3 separate regions of the Homo sapiens genome follow, and regions 1 and 3 are each linked to region 2. The links are contacts of gene promoters, found by promoter capture Hi-C in blood cells and fetal thymus (Javierre and others, 2016). All regions are on one chromosome and are shown on one strand. Each heading gives the region's core, a stretch centred on a gene start or on the middle of the fragment in contact. The rest is flanking DNA. Distances are from core to core; before and after follow the strand shown.

Region 1 (5,111 bases), core at 2,540-5,039, 9.9 Mb before region 2:
AAGCTCCTGGGCTTGAGCAATCTTCCCACCTCAGCCTCCCAAAGTGCTGGGATTACAGGCGTGAGCAACTGCCCCTGGCTTCATGTTCATTTCTCCTTGCTGCTGCAACAAACTACCCTACATTTAGTGGCTTAAAACACCAGAAATCTACCATCTTACAGTTCTGGGGCCCAGAAACCCAGCTAGGTCTAGTAAGGCTAAAGTCAAGGTGTCAGAGGGGCTGCATTCCTTTTGGAGGCTCTAGAGAGAATGTGCTCCCTTGCCTTTTCCAGTTTCTAGAAGCCACCCCCATTCCTTGACTCACCTTGAAGATGGCCCCTGACTCCATCTTCAAAGTCAGAAGTGCAGCATCTTCAAATCTTCCTCTCTGACCTCTTCTTTCATCACCACATCTCCTTCTCTAATTCTGACTCTCCTACCTCCTTTCTCTTATAAAGATCCTTGTGATTGGCGGGCATGGGGGCTCCCATCTATAATCCCAACATTTTGGGAAGCCAAAGAGGAAGGAATGCTTGAGGCCAAGAGTTCAAAATCAGCCTTGGCATCATAGCAAGACCCTGCCTTTACAAAATTAACATTAAAATCAGCTGGGCATGGTGATGCACATCTGTAGTCCCAGCTACTGGAGAGGTGAAGGTGGGAGGATTGCTTTAGCTTAGGAGGTCAAGGCTGCAGTGAGCTACGATCACATCACTGCACTCCAGCTGGGGTAGGAGAGTGAGACTCTGTCTCAAATATAAGAAAAGAAATACATATTTGGTATTTGCCCCTGGTTCCTGGCACAAAGCTTCTAAAGCTCTTATAAAGTCCTTAGTGATAGAGGTAATAGGAGCACCTTCTGTTTTAATATTTGGTCTTAGTCCCAGGTTCCTGACACAAGGACCTCTAAGTTCTTTCAGATCTGCAGCATGGTAAGAAAGCATGTGGGATGCTGTTGAGATGCCTGGGTGGCTGGAAGTTCCTAGACTGCTTCAGAAGGGCTGGTTGCCAGAGAAACCAACCACATTTTTTTTTTTAAATGGAGTTTGGCTCTTGCAGCCCAGGCTGGAGTGCAATGGGACAATCTCGGCTCACCACAACCTCCGCCTCCCGGGTTCAAGCTATTCTCCTGCCTCAGCCTCCTGAGTAGCTGGGATTACAGGCATGTGCCACCATGACCAGCTAATTTTTGTATTTTTAGTAGAGACGGGGTTTCATCATGTTGGTAAGGCTGGTCTTGAACTCCTGACATCAGGTGATCTGCCCACCTCGGCCTCCCAAAGTGTTGGGATTACAGGCGTGAGCCACCGTGCCCAACCCCAACCACATTTTTTGAGGCTTGGAACTTTCAGCCTTACTGGCTGAACTCCAGGAGGCAAAAGGGGCTGGAGATTGACTTAACCACCAATGGCCAATGATTTTATCAATCATGCCTCCATAAAAATCCTAAACAACAGGGTTTGGAGAGCTTCTGTGTTGCTGAACACAAGGAGGTGCTGGGAGGGTAGCATGCCCAACAGAGGGCATGGAAGCTCTGTGCCCCTCCCCACTTACCCTGCAATACATCTCTTTCATTGGCTGTTCCTGAGATGCAGCCTTTACACTGAGCCAGTAATAGAAAATAAACTGGCCAGATGTGGTGGCTCATGCCTGTAATCCCAGCACTTTTGGAGGCAGAGGTGGGGGAATCACTTGAGCCCAGGAATTTGAGACCAGACTGGGCAATGTAACAAGACCCCATCTATACAAAAAATTAAAAAAATTAGCCAGATGTGGTGGTGGGAAACTTGTAATTCCAGCTACTTGAGAGGCTGAAGCAGGAAAATCACTTGAGCCCTGGAGGTTGAGGCTTCAATGAGCTATGATTGCACCAGTGCACTCCAGCCTGGGCAACAGAACGAGACCCTGTCTCTTAAAAAAAAAGGAAAAAAACCCTGTTTTTCTAAGTTCTGTGAGTTGTTCTAGCAAATAATTAAACCCAATAAGAGGATCATGGGAACCCCTGATTTCTAACTGGTTGGTCAAAATACAGGTGACAACCTAGGACTTGCAACTAGCATCTAAAGTGAGGGTGGTCTCGTGGGACTGAGCCCCTAATCTGTAGGGTCTGCACTAACTCCAGGTAGTGTCAGGATGGAACTGTGGGATACGCAGTTGGTATCCAGAGAGTTGGAGAATTGGTGTAGAAACTCTGCACTCACATTTTGTCAGAAGTGTGTGAGTAGAGAGAAACATGGGTTCTTCTCTCACCTGTCTACCTGCTTAACTGCATAGGAGAGGCAATGCATGGTGCTCATGAACAAAGCAAGCATTAAAGTCAAACAAGACCCAACATTTGACTCAGTCTTAATATCCAGGTGAGCTTGGGCAAATCACTTATTATCCACAAGTCTTCACCATTTTGTGTGTAAAATGGAGATAACTGTGGCACCTATCTGTGATTTTGTGAGAACTAATGAAATACTATGATTGGTGTTATTGTGATCATTATACCTATTCTAAACTATTTGACAAGGAGAGGGATGCATAATAATGTCAACAGATTAGAAACTGTAATGAGGTCTCTTGGGCAAAATTCCATACAAGCAAATTACTGTCTCTCCAATGCATTCCTGCCACACTTAATTCACCATTCCCTGAATAAAATGTGCCATTTTCATTGTCCAGGTCTTTACAGTGCTGGTTTCCCTGCCTGGGGAGCTCACTCCAACCCATCCCAGCCCATTCCCCACCCCTCCACCTCCCCCTTCCCTCCCCACTCTCATGCAACTCTTACTCATCTTTCAGGACCCGGTTTCAATGTTATCTTAACTGGAAGCTTCTCTCACCCTCCAGAAGAGCTTCCCATTGCACTTCATGCATGTACTGTTATTTGACCATTTTTGTGTTATAGTTCAAGTCTTTTTGTACCTGAATAAGATGTTGCCCAGTCAGTCTCTCTTCCTGGACTCTGAAGTCTTTCATGGTAGATTCAGCTGAAAGTGACATAAAGACATTCTTTAAAAAAAAAGAAAAAAAAAAAGAGGGATGACACAGACAGACATCAGTACTTAAAAGTTTTAAATGGTATGTGAAAAGCAAACAAAATTCAAGGGCTTCTAGGAAAAATGTAGGAGGGAAGGTGTCACTGGGAAATATGATAAAGGGTAATTTTTATTTTATTTTATTTTTTGAGAAAGGGTCTTGCTCTATTGCCAAGGCTGTACTGCAGTAGTGCGATCACAGCTCACTGCAGCCTCAACCTCCTGGGCTCAAGAAATCTTCCCACCTGATTTTTATTTTATTTAAGAAACACAGTCTTACTCTGTTACCAAAGCTGGAGTGCAGTGGTATGATCATAGCTTACTGCAGCCTCAACCTCCTAGGCTCAAGTGATCCTCCAGTCTCAGCCTCCGTAGGAGCTGGGACTACAGGTGTCCACCACAATGTCCAGCTCATTTTTTTTTTTAATTTTTAGTAGAGACAAAGTGTTGTTATGTTGACCAGGCTGATGGTAATCTCCTACCCTCAAGCAGTTCTCCCACCTCAGCCTTCCAAAGTGCTGGGATTACAGGTGTGAGCTGCCACATCTGGCTGAGGGGGTTAATTTTTAATTATATAAAGAGCTCAAAGCAAATAGTAGAAGGAGCCTAAATGCCTATAGCGGCTGACTGGTAAACTGTGATACATCCATATAATAAAATATTATGCAACCATGAAAAGGATTAAGAAAGATCAATAGGTATTGGCATAGATGTCCATGAAATATGAAAATGTGAAGTGAAGTCCAATTAGCCTGTATCTTGAAAAATATGGCCCTTTTTCTCAATAGCAATTATTTCCTGAGATAAGATCATGGGTCTAAAGAGCAAAGGAAAATTTTCACTTCTTTCTTAAAAATATTTACTATTTTTATAATTTAAAGAGATTAAATAAATAGATTGTCAAATTAGTAAAAGACACATTAACTCTATAAATAAATGGAGAAGTCACAGACAGCCCAGGCATGGTGGCTCACACTTATAATACCAGCACTTTGGGAGGGGGTCGGGGAGGATTGCTTGAGGGCAGGAGTTCCAGACCAGCCTGGAAAACATAGCAAGACATCATCTGTACTAAAAAAAAAAAAAAAAAAAAAAAAAATTGCCAGGCATGGTGGCATGTGCCTACAGTCCCAGCTACTGAGGTGGAAGGATCACCTGAGCCCAGGAGGTCAAGACTGTGGTAAGTTGAGACTGTGCTTGTGCCACTACACTCAAGCCTGGAAGACAGAGCGAGACTTAGTCTCAAAAAAAAAAAGACAATAAAGAAATAAAGCTAACAAGCTAACATAAGAAAAGATGTTAAAATGTGACAAATAAGATGGGCACGGTGGCTCACGCCTGTAATCCCAGCACTTTGGGAGGCCGAGGTGGATGGATCATGAGTTCAGGAGTTCAAGACCAGCCTGACGAACATGGTGAAACCCTGTCTCTACTAAAAATGCAAAAATTAGCCAGGCATGGTGGCGTGTGCCTATAATCCCAGCTACTCAGGAGGCTGAGGCAGGAGAATTGCTTGAACCTGGGAGGCGGAGGTTGCAGTGAGCCAAGGTCATGCCACTGCACTCCAGCCTGGTGAGAGAGCAAGACTCTGTCTCAAAAAAAAAAAGTGACAAATGAAAATAAAGTAATATGAGGTCTTTTATTTATTAAAAATAATCAAACAGAAAATAACTTGTTAAATTATAATACCCTGTGCTGGCAAAGGTGCAGTGAAATGGGCATTTTCTTTTACTATTAGTGATGTTTAAATTGTAAATAAACCTTCCAGGGTAAAGCTTGGCAATTTTTTAAAAATAATACAGACAGTGACTCACTATACTGCCTCCTCCAACTCCTGGCCTCAAGCAGTCCTCCCACCTCAACCTCCAAAAGTGCTGGGATTATAGGTCGACAGCCACCATGCCTGAAAGCTTGGCAATTTACATCAAGCATAATAAGAATGCTCATGCCCTGTGACTCACAGTAATCTCACTTCTGGAAATATCATCTTTGGATATAATTCAACCTAAACAAAAGGTCATATGCACAAACACAGTGAAAATCTTGGGGTATTTTTTTTCTCTTTTTTAAAAAAATATGGAATGCTTCACAAATTTGCATGTCATTCTT
Region 2 (5,125 bases), core at 1,931-4,430:
CTTTTCCAACTTTGAAAACGATCTCAGCCAGTTCATGTTTCACATGCTTTGCTCGTGGAACAGGTAAAGCTCTGAGAAGCACAATATCCCCAACTGTGCACTGCTGAAGGGCATCGTGAGCAAAGTAGGTTTTCCGCTTATTAAAATACTGTTGAGAGAGGGAGAGAAGCAAATCAGTAGTTCCCATCTGTGACCTGGTAATGTAATATGTAATATGAAAAAGTAACGTATGGAAAACAAGCCAGGACTTAGGAAAAGATAAGATACTAAGGAGGCTTCTAGTACAAAAATTAGAGCCTGAGTGATATAGTGAGACAATCCAGTGAGATGGATTCTCGCTCTGTTGCCCAGGCTGGAGTGCAATGGCACGATCTCAGCTCACTGCAACCTCCGCCTCCCAGATTCATGAGATTCTCCTGCCTCAGCCTCCCAAGTAGCTGGAATTACAGGTGCCTGCCACCATGCCCGGCTAATTTTTTGTATGTTTTTTTAGTAGAGATGGGGTTTCACCATGTTGGCCAGGCTGGTCCTGAACTCCTGACGTCAGGTGATCCACCTGCCTCGGCCTCCCAAAGTGCTGGGATTACAGGCATGAGCCACCGCGCCCAGCCTAGAATCACCTATTCTTTATAACAACCCTGTTGCAGCAGGTACATATGAGAAAAGTTCAGGGAGGTTAAGCCATGTGTGTAGCTGGTAAACAAGAGTCAGTATTCAAACTAAGGTCTCCCAAAGGTCAAGGATCATGCAGTCACTCTTCAGCTTGCTCCTGTGTTTCTAATCCTTGATAATGACCAGCATTGGTACCCACCTGTGTGCTGAACTTTGGATGTGAAACCATCCTTGGCACCTATCCGTCCCCTGGGCACAGCAAACAAATCAATGACTCTGTCCTTCCTGAAATATTTTTTCCACTCCATCCCCACTACATCAACTTTAGTTCAGGTCCTTATTTCCATCCTAGACTTTTGCAGCAGCCTCTTTGCCCATTCCCTTACCTCCAGTCTTCATCCCTACCCGTGTTTCCAAGCCTGTCTTTGGGTTCAAGCAGGGATCCCCAACCCCCAGGGCAGCAGACTGATACCATTCAGTGGCCTGTTAGGAACAGGGCCGCACAGCAGGAGGTGAGTGGCGTTGAGCCAGCATGAGTATTACCGCCTGCGCTCCACCTCCTGTCAGATCAGCAGCGGCATTAGATTCCTATAGGAGCACAAACCCTATTGTGAATTGTGCATGGTAGGCAGAGTTTTGCTCTTGTCCAGGATGGAGTGCAATGGTACAATTGTGGCTCATTGCAACCTCCGCCTCCCGGCTTCAAGAGATTCTCCTGCCTCAGCCTCCAGAGTAGCTAGGATTACAGGTGCGCACCACTATGCCCAGCTAATTTTTGTATTTTTAGTAGAGACGGGGTTTCACCACGTTGGCCAGACTGGTCTCGAACTCCTGATCTCAGGTGATCCAACCGCATCGGCCTCCCAAAGTGCTGGGATTACAGGTGTGAGCCACCTCATCCGGCCAGTACTTTGCATACAGAATGACTACAGCAGTTAGAGTGGATTGACATTAACTGTTTTCTTGGAATGTGTAAACCGTGTTATACCTACAGACCAGCAAAATGCCTGGCTCAAAGCAGATGAGAGACAAGACATCTTTACTGAGAGATAAATGTTTTTTTGCTTAGGACCCAGGACATGGTGGTGATTTACCAAAGCCACCCGGAAACAAGAATGTTTCTCACCTTTAATAAATAGGGATCCAGAACAAGCCTGGTCACTCTCACTTTAGCAGTCTTTTGCATTTTTGTCCCAATCACCTTCCCCACAATCCATCTGGCATGGACGGATGAGCGAACTACGGACATTACGTGGCTTTGGTCACCTGAAAAGCAAATTCCAAAGTCTCATATTCTGGTGGTTATGATGCCACATGAATTTTGTCACAAGAACTGTCCAGGTTAGTCCAGAAACAGTTTTTTTCTTTTTCGTTCCCCCCTCCACCCAGAAACAGTTTTGTTTTGTTTTTTTTTAGATGTAGTCTCTCTCTGTCGCCCAGGCTGGAGTGCGGTGGTGCGATCTTGGCTCACTGCAAACGCCGCCTCCTGGGTTCACGCCATTCTCCTGCCTCAGCCTCCCGAGCAGCTGGGACTACAGGCGCCCGCCACAACGCCCGGCTAATTTTTTTGTATTTTTAGTAGAGATGGAGTTTCACCGTGTTAGCCAGGATGGTCTTGATCTCCTGACCTCGTGATCCGCCCGCCTCGGCCTCCCAGAGTGCTAGGATTACAGGCGTGAGCCACCGCGCCCGGCCATATGTATTTTTCTTTAGATGAAGTTTAGTTCTTTCGCCCAGTCTGGAGTGAAGTGGCGCGATCTCGGCTCACTGCAACCTCCGCCTCCCGGGTTCAAGCGATTCTTCTCCCTCAGCCTCCCGAGTAGCCGGGACTACAGGCCCGCACCACCACGCCGAGCTAATTTTTGTATTTTTAGTAAAGACAGAGTTTCACCATGTTGGCCAGACTGGTCTCGAACTCCTGACCTCAGGTGATCCGCCCGCCTCAAGCCTCCCAAAGTGCTGGGATTAAGAGGCGTGAGCCACCGCGCCCGGCTTGAATCACCATTTCAGAGATGCTTACACGTTCCCCACTACCCAACCTCTCATCTTTACAGCGCTTACAAAGCGGTAACTTTAACTTCGCCAAGCCTCACGTTCCCCTTCTGCAAAATGGGCAGGCCTATTTCGCAGGAGTGCTTTGAGAATTTGACCCACAGAACGCTCAATACCACGGACAAACGCTGGACGTTACTGGTCCCTTATCTCTCTCCACCCCGCTGGGTCGCCTCTCCCCACAGGCTCAGTGCCCAGGTAGCACTCGGCGGGGCCGCCGCGGTGTCCCCCTCCCCGGCCCAGCGACGGATGACTTGGGCTGCTTTTGAGATCAGTTCACAAGCCATTCCACCAGGCTTCGGAAAGGTTGGGGTGATTCGTGCCCTCGCCCCAGACAACCCCGAGGTCAGACGAAGCGATTCGCTCTCAGGGCTCTCACGCGAGGGTGCCTTGGGTCCCCAGCAAATCCTCCCCCGGCAGCAATACCCCGGAGCCTGCCCTCACCTCCACCACGAGACTCACCTCCGCCAAGACTATGCAGCCACCTGCCCCGGGGAGCGCCGGTCGCAGCGGGATGGCGTCACGCCGTACGCATTGGCTCAGTCCCACACTACCCCTCTCGTAGGCCGTGCATCTCCTTAGCCGTGGGCGGAGTTAAAGGCAGGACCCCGCCCACTCTCCCTTAAAGGGACCCGCGGCGGTGGCGGGGTCGGGGGCGCTGACCTCTGGTTTCCTAACGCGCGCAGCTAGTGGACAGTGGCGCAGGAGGTTTCGGACTTTTCTTTCATTCTTTTGTTTTGTTTCTTTTTTTTTTTTTTTTTTTTGAGACGGAGTCTCGCTCTGTCGCCCAGGCTGGTGTGCAGTGGCGCGATCTCTGCTCACTGCAACCTCTGCCTCCCGGGTTCAAGCGATTCTTCTGCCTCAACCTCCCAAGTAGCTGGGATTACAGGCGTGCACCACCATGCCCAGCTAATTTTTGTATTTTTAGTAGAGACAGGGTTTCACATGTTGGCCAGGCTGGTCTCGAACTCCTGGCCTTAAGTGATCCAACCACTTTGGCCTTTCAAAGTGTTGGAATTACAGGCGTGAGCCACCGTGCCTGGCCTAAAAGTGTTTTTTTTTTTTTTTTTTTTGAGACAGGGTCTCACTCTTGTTGCCCAGGCTGGAGTGCAGTGGCATGATCTTGACTCACTGCAACCTCTGCCTCCTGGGTTTAAGGGATTCTCCTGCCTCAGCCTCCTGAGTAGCTGGGACTACAGGCATCTGGCACCACGTCCAGCTAATTTTTTTTATTTTTAGTAGAGACGGGATTTCACCATGTTGGCCAGGCTGTTCTTGAACTCTTGGCCTCAAGTGATCCACCTATTTCGGACTCCCAAAGTTCTGGGATTACAGGCATGAGCCACTGTGCCTGGCTGGTCCAGATTTACCTATACTTTCCCTGACCAGTTATTGTATCAGAAGTTTTTCAAACGAAAAATATCAGTGGGGAGTGGTACTTAGCAACAAAGCTCTGAGTGCTAGGTGAGCAACTTGCTACTGGGATTTTCCTGCCTGTAGGCTATTTCAGCAGATGTAGCTATCGATACATTGAAACATACACACACGCACACACACACCTACCTTTAAACAGCAGTGGGTTTCTTTCTTTTTTGGGACGGAGGCTGTCTCTGTCGCCCAGGCTGGAGTGCACTGGCGCGATCTCGGCTCACTGCAAGCTCCGCCTCCCGGGTTCACGCCATTCTCCTGCCTCAGCCTTCCGAGTAGCTGGGACTACAGGCGCCTGCCACCAGGCCGGCTAATTTTTTGTATTTTTTTTAGTGGAGACGGGGTTTCACCGTGTAAGCCAGGATGGTCTCGATCTCCTGACCTCGTGATCCGCCCGTCTCGGCTTCCCAAAGTGCTGGGATTACAGGCATGAGCCACCAGTGGGTTTCTTCTTTTGCTTCACCAGTTCCGTATTTTTATCTCCTTTCTTCCACAGTTAGAACTCTGGTCCCTACCCCGACAACATCAATGATTAATGCTAAATCCTATAGTATACACTATATGCTTTTGGAGTTGTACTAACAATATCCCGACTAAAAACAAACTTTCTAAGTGATGCGTGAGATTATTTTTTGTGGTTCTTTTTGTCCTTAGAGTGTACAATGACAGCACTGTGTTCAACATTTCTTGGGATTCTTTTTTTTTCTTCTGTGTGGTTGTAACAATATTCTATACAATTAGATTTTTTTTTTTTTTTCAGACGGAGTCTCGCTCACAATCTCGGCTCACTGCAAGCTCTGCCTCCTGGGTTTACGCCATTCTCCTGCCTCAGCATCCCGGGTGGCTGGGACTACAGGCACCCGCCACCACGCCCGGCTAATTTTTCTTGTATTTTTAGTAGAGATGGAGTTTCACCGCGTTAGCCAGGATGGTCTCCATCTTGTGACCTAATGATCCGCCCGCCTCGGCCTCCCAAAGTGTTGGGATTACAGGCGTGAGCCACCGTGCCTGGCCTTCATTTTTATATGTTTGT
Region 3 (4,805 bases), core at 1,189-3,688, 8.7 Mb before region 2:
GAAGCACATAGATAATCCTGGTAAATAGCTGCGATTAATAAAAGTCCCCATCCTTTGTGTTCTCCAGGAACAGTTTATGAAAAGAAACACCCTTCCCATTATGACTTAGATGGTACTCTTTTTCTTAACTGTTTAATAACCAAACACTCACTCTGCATATTTTCTTTTTCATATTAAAAAATTAGCTGAATTTTTCTTCAGTGGTCAAAAGAAAGTTCTTCTTAATCAAACTTCACTTAAGTTTATCTCCTTTCCACAGGCTCCTGAACTTTGAGGTACCCTCAGTCTGAGCCAACATACAACCCCATTTTTTGTCCCTCCTAAAGACTTGATGACTTCAGGATAAAAGTGTTCTAATCTAGTATTTGATTTTTTTCACCCTCCATTTGCCATTCCCCTGTGACCTTCTTTCTAACCTTCTTTGCTCCTCCCTAAAAAAAAAAGTCTTTGTCTGCCTAAACTTTGCAATTCTTAAAGATCTTTTAGTTGGTATTTCCTTCTGTTGCAATACTCCTTTAAAATTCAGAATTTTTTTTACAGAAACCTTATTCTGTTTTTACAAAAAGTAAAATACTGCCTCAAAACGATAACAACTTCATCTTTAGTAAGACTCTCTCATTCCCCTTCCATCTTAACGTTAACTGCATCTGCCTGTGGGTCCCCCGACGTCCAGGGCTCTGTAGCTTCTCTCAGAATAAAGGCTTCTTCCATGGCTGGGGTGAGCAGGGGAGGCTTCCAAGAAAGAACTAACTGGGCCTTTAATAACCTCCCTTCCCTTTGCAGGCTCAATATTAGCCTTAGCTTGGAATCACTGGGCATAAGCTTTAATTTCCATGTCAAGGTTATTCACTTGGGTTTTGAAACTGCTTTAAAAATTCAGCAAAATTATGCACAGTATTTATATATGGGAAGGAAATTATTTTTTCTTTTTTTTTGAGACAGAGTCTCGCTCTGTTGCCCAGCCTGGAGTGCAGTGGTACACTCTTGGCTCACTGCAACCTCTGCCTCCCAGATTCAAGTGATTCTCCTGCCTCAGCCTACCGAGTAGCTAAGACTACAGGTGCCTGTCACCCACACCTGGCTAATTTTTCAGTAGAGACGGGGCTTCACCATGTTGGCCAGGCTGGTCTTGAACTCTTGACCTCAGGTGATCCGCCTGCCTCAGCCTCCCAAAGTGCTGGGATTACAGGCGTGAGCCACTGCACCCAACCAAGGGAAGGAAATTTTAAGGTGCTTACATTTCATACCTCAGTAAGAAATGCAAAGTATTTATTTCTTTCAGACGATAAATGTATTATTCTATTATTTTCATTAAAAATTAGGTAGTAATCAATTAGTCATATGGGATTAGTAATCAAGAAGTCATACTTCTAGGAGGTACCAACTTTCATCTCATAAAATTTAGCATTAACCAGCTGGGTGCAGTGGCTCATGCCTGTAATCCCTTGGGAGACCAAGGCAGGCAGATCACTTGAGGTCAGGAGTTCAAGGCCAGCCTGCCCAACATGGTGAAACCCCGTGTCTAATAAAACTACAAAAATTACCTGGGCATGGTGGTGCATGCCTGTAATCCCAGCTACTTGCGAGGTTGAGGCAGGAGAATTGCTTGAGCCCGGAAGGCGGAGGTTTCAGTGAGCCGAGATCGCACCACTGCCCTTCAGCCTGAGCAACAGAGCGAGACTCCATCTCAAAAAAAAAAAAAAAAAAAAAAAAAAAAAAAAAAAATTAGCGTTATCCTCACAAATCAAGATGATAGGATATAGAACAGAGGTATTTACTGTAACAAAAGTACCCTGCAAAAAGAGGAACTGATGCTTTCATAAATCTATGTAACTCATCAATTATCTACCACATTTTCTTGTAAAAATGTATTCATTTTCTACAGTCAAAATGGAAGAGAGGTTTTTTTCCTTTTTGTTTCCCTGCTAGCACTCTAAAAACTAAGCCTTGGAATACCGTTGGACATCACCCAGCCATAAAAAACACACCTGAGTAAATTCCTAAACTAAGTCTGGGAAAGAAAAAGGTAAATGAGAATTCTTAATAAATGGAATATATGATTAGATATTATTTTTCTCTGAAACTCACCTCTTTTATGCTCTGTAAATATTTTCTTAACTTTTAAATCATACTAATAAAATGCAAGTTACAGTTATAAAACTGAAATCAAAATAAGTGAACAAATCTTTTCAAGGTGACAAACCCAGGGAGTGGCGGGGCTGATTAGAAAACAGATGTGTCTGATGAGTTCATGGCCTTTGCAGGGACATGGATAAAGCTGGAAACCATCGTTCTCAGCAAGGACAAAAAACCAAACACCGCATGTTCTCACTTATAGGTGGGAATTGAACAATGAGAACACATGGACACAGGAAGGGGAACATCACACACTGGGGCCTGCTGTGGGGTGGGGGGAGGGGGGAGGGATAGCATTAGGAGATATACCTAATGCTAAATGACGAGTTACTGGGTGCAGCACACCAACAGGGCACATGTGTACATATGTAACAAACCTGCACGTTATGCACATGTACCCTAAAACTTAAAGTATAATAATAATAAAAAAAAAGAAAACAGATGTGTCTGACTCATGTGTCAAGTCAGGCCACCCAAACACTAGATTCTCCTACCCCATCCTGCTCATTTAAGTGCCCAATGACCACCCTCTCTGTAGACACTGCCCTATGCCTCAGTGACTACTCCAAGTGCATTTCATTTTGCAAGTTCTTGTACCATCTCACTGGGGTCAAGTTTGATTTTTTTTTTTTTTTGTCTTCTGGAATACTATTTTTTCTTTCACAAATCTTAGAGAATCCAGGGGGCAGAAATTATTTCTGAGTTTTCCTCTCAATACCAGCATCTGATTGGCTGACCAGCAATGTACCTCTGAGAAATGGAAGTCGGGTTGAGTGAACACAATCTTAATGCCTCAAAGGGTTAGCTTTCCAAAGGAAGGGTATACCAGGAGATTCCTCTCAGCCCCAGGGCATCCACCTGCTCCCTTGAGAGGCTACACTCCAACCTCAGATTGTCCTCTGTCTCCCATTCCCAGATACCCAGAGTTCCATTCCAGGCCAGGAGCTGAAATTTACTAGAGATTCTAGCATACACAGCCACAGTTGATATCTTGATTTATCCCCAGACAGTACTGAAACCCAGGACCAGGAGAAAACCGAAAGGTGGCTGAGGACACATCACCCTGTAAAGTTTCCAAAGGGAAACCTTGACCCAAAAACATTCTGATAAGATCTCTGCGCCTAGGGAAGATAAAAGGAAAATAGGCACAGACTTTTTTTTACAATACAGTGTCAGGGGATTATTTTTTGTTTTCTTCTCATTGGAAATATTTTCAAACAGCAAACAATTTGTTTAAAGTGCCACCCAATAATTTGTCAACAATGATTAATTAAAATACAGTATCTAAAATGTACACTAAAGGACAAATAGTTGATAATGTGAATTAGGGAGGGGAAGCTGGGATTTGGGAATGTCAAAGGAAACTGGAAATTTAGCATTTTACTGAAAGTCAGTTAGGCTAAAAGAATGGGGAATAGGGAGTAGTCTTGAGACCCTGCTTGAGACACGTGAAAGTTGCAGGGGAAAATCTGTCCCCTGTGGAGTGTGAAAATAACTAAATGGCAGGCAATTAGACTGAGGTGGCTCTAGTCCCAGGGTTTTTACTTTTTAAAAAATCTAACTCAAATGCTTTTTTTTTGTAAATTACTACATTGGGGAAAACAAAATTTAGACTTAATCAACCATGAACTGCCAATTAAGCTCTGATTACGTGACCAGAAAATTTCCACCTTCATCTAAAACTAAGAAACTACGTAACTCTACCTAACCAATTATTGAGTTTGCTTTCCTTTATCATGCACCTTCTAAAAGTCTTTTCTTCAAGCCCCTCCCATGGAAAATAAACTACAAACCACAGCTGGGTGCTCTATAATTCTTCAATTACTCTTTGATTAAATTCTTTAACATTTTTGTGGTGACTTCCATAGATTTTTAAGAGAAAAAAGATGGACTAGGAACCCCACAGACTAAAGCTTTTCCCATTCATGAACCCCGCATCCCGAGTCAGGATTCTCCCCTGATGACCCTCCCGGCATCCCTGCACAATCGGGGAGAGATGCCGCGCTGCGGGTGCAAAGCCGCCCGGAGAGGGCTCCAGGCCAGGGCACAGTCACTGAGCAGGGAGGAGACAGGACGCCCAGGGTCCCGGCTGTCAGCCCAGCCGCCATCTTACGGCTGAAGGGGACTGAGGACCGAGCTGCGCCAAGGAGAACTCGGGGCCGCGGGGGACTGAGGGCCGAGCTGCGCCAAGGAGAACTTGGGGCCGCGGACTTTGGAGGCCCGAGTCCAGCCACAGCCACTTCCGATCGGTTCCAACCAGCCCCTCCCCCTCTCTCGGGATGTCGGACCCAGCACTCTCACCATTTCTAGGTTTCCAGGGAGTCCCGGCGTCTTAGCTGTGGATCTCCCAATATCTGCAGGTCACAGGGACACAGAGGCTGGGCCTCTAGGAGCAGAGGACACTGAGCAGTGAGGAGGAGAGCAGGAGCTCCGGCTGCAGCCAGAGACAAAGGCCCCGCCAAATCCCGGAAGCCGTCCTGTCCGCTCCAGCTGCGTGCCTGATTGGACGGTTCCCAGCCCAGCAGTCCTGATTGGATAACGTTTGCTGCCCTGCTCCCTCAGGCCCTGAGTGACAGAAGCTGTGCTCAGATGCTGGGCTGGAAGAAGATAAAGTGAAACCTAAGCTGCAGCCTTTTCAGGCAGGGCTCCTCCCTGAGTTGAGCCAGGTC

What was found. The method cuts DNA at HindIII sites, captures the fragments that hold promoters and counts their contacts. A CHiCAGO score of 5 or more calls a contact.
Region 1: a fragment that was not itself captured here is called in contact with the fragment with the promoter of MRPS17 in region 2 in 1 of 17 cell types (erythroblasts); the score reaches 8.5 in erythroblasts.
Region 3: a fragment that was not itself captured here is called in contact with the fragment with the promoter of MRPS17 in region 2 in 1 of 17 cell types (total CD8 T cells); the score reaches 5.1 in total CD8 T cells.

Annotation. Positions count from the first base shown.
Region 1 is chr7:65,814,737-65,819,847 of GRCh38, reverse strand. It overlaps the pseudogene RNU6-912P. Among named protein-coding and RNA genes, the nearest start is that of LINC03129, 22 kb to the left of the region's middle. The HindIII fragment of the contact is 1,980 bases long and covers 2,800-4,779 here.
Region 2 is chr7:55,949,932-55,955,056 of GRCh38, reverse strand. MRPS17 (mitochondrial ribosomal protein S17) reads right to left here and starts at 3,180. Exons shown (of 3, transcript NM_015969.3): 1 at 3,127-3,180; 2 at 1,739-1,878; 3 at 1-148. The coding sequence starts at 1,861. RefSeq lists an enhancer at 3,068-3,127. The HindIII fragment of the contact is 16,512 bases long and covers 1-5,125 here.
Region 3 is chr7:64,665,918-64,670,722 of GRCh38, reverse strand. It overlaps ZNF107 (zinc finger protein 107), which reads right to left and starts at 4,590. Exons shown (of 4, transcript NM_001282359.2): 1 at 4,438-4,590. The coding sequence starts at 4,440. RefSeq lists enhancers at 4,263-4,382, 4,403-4,552, 4,703-4,805. The HindIII fragment of the contact is 3,227 bases long and covers 825-4,051 here.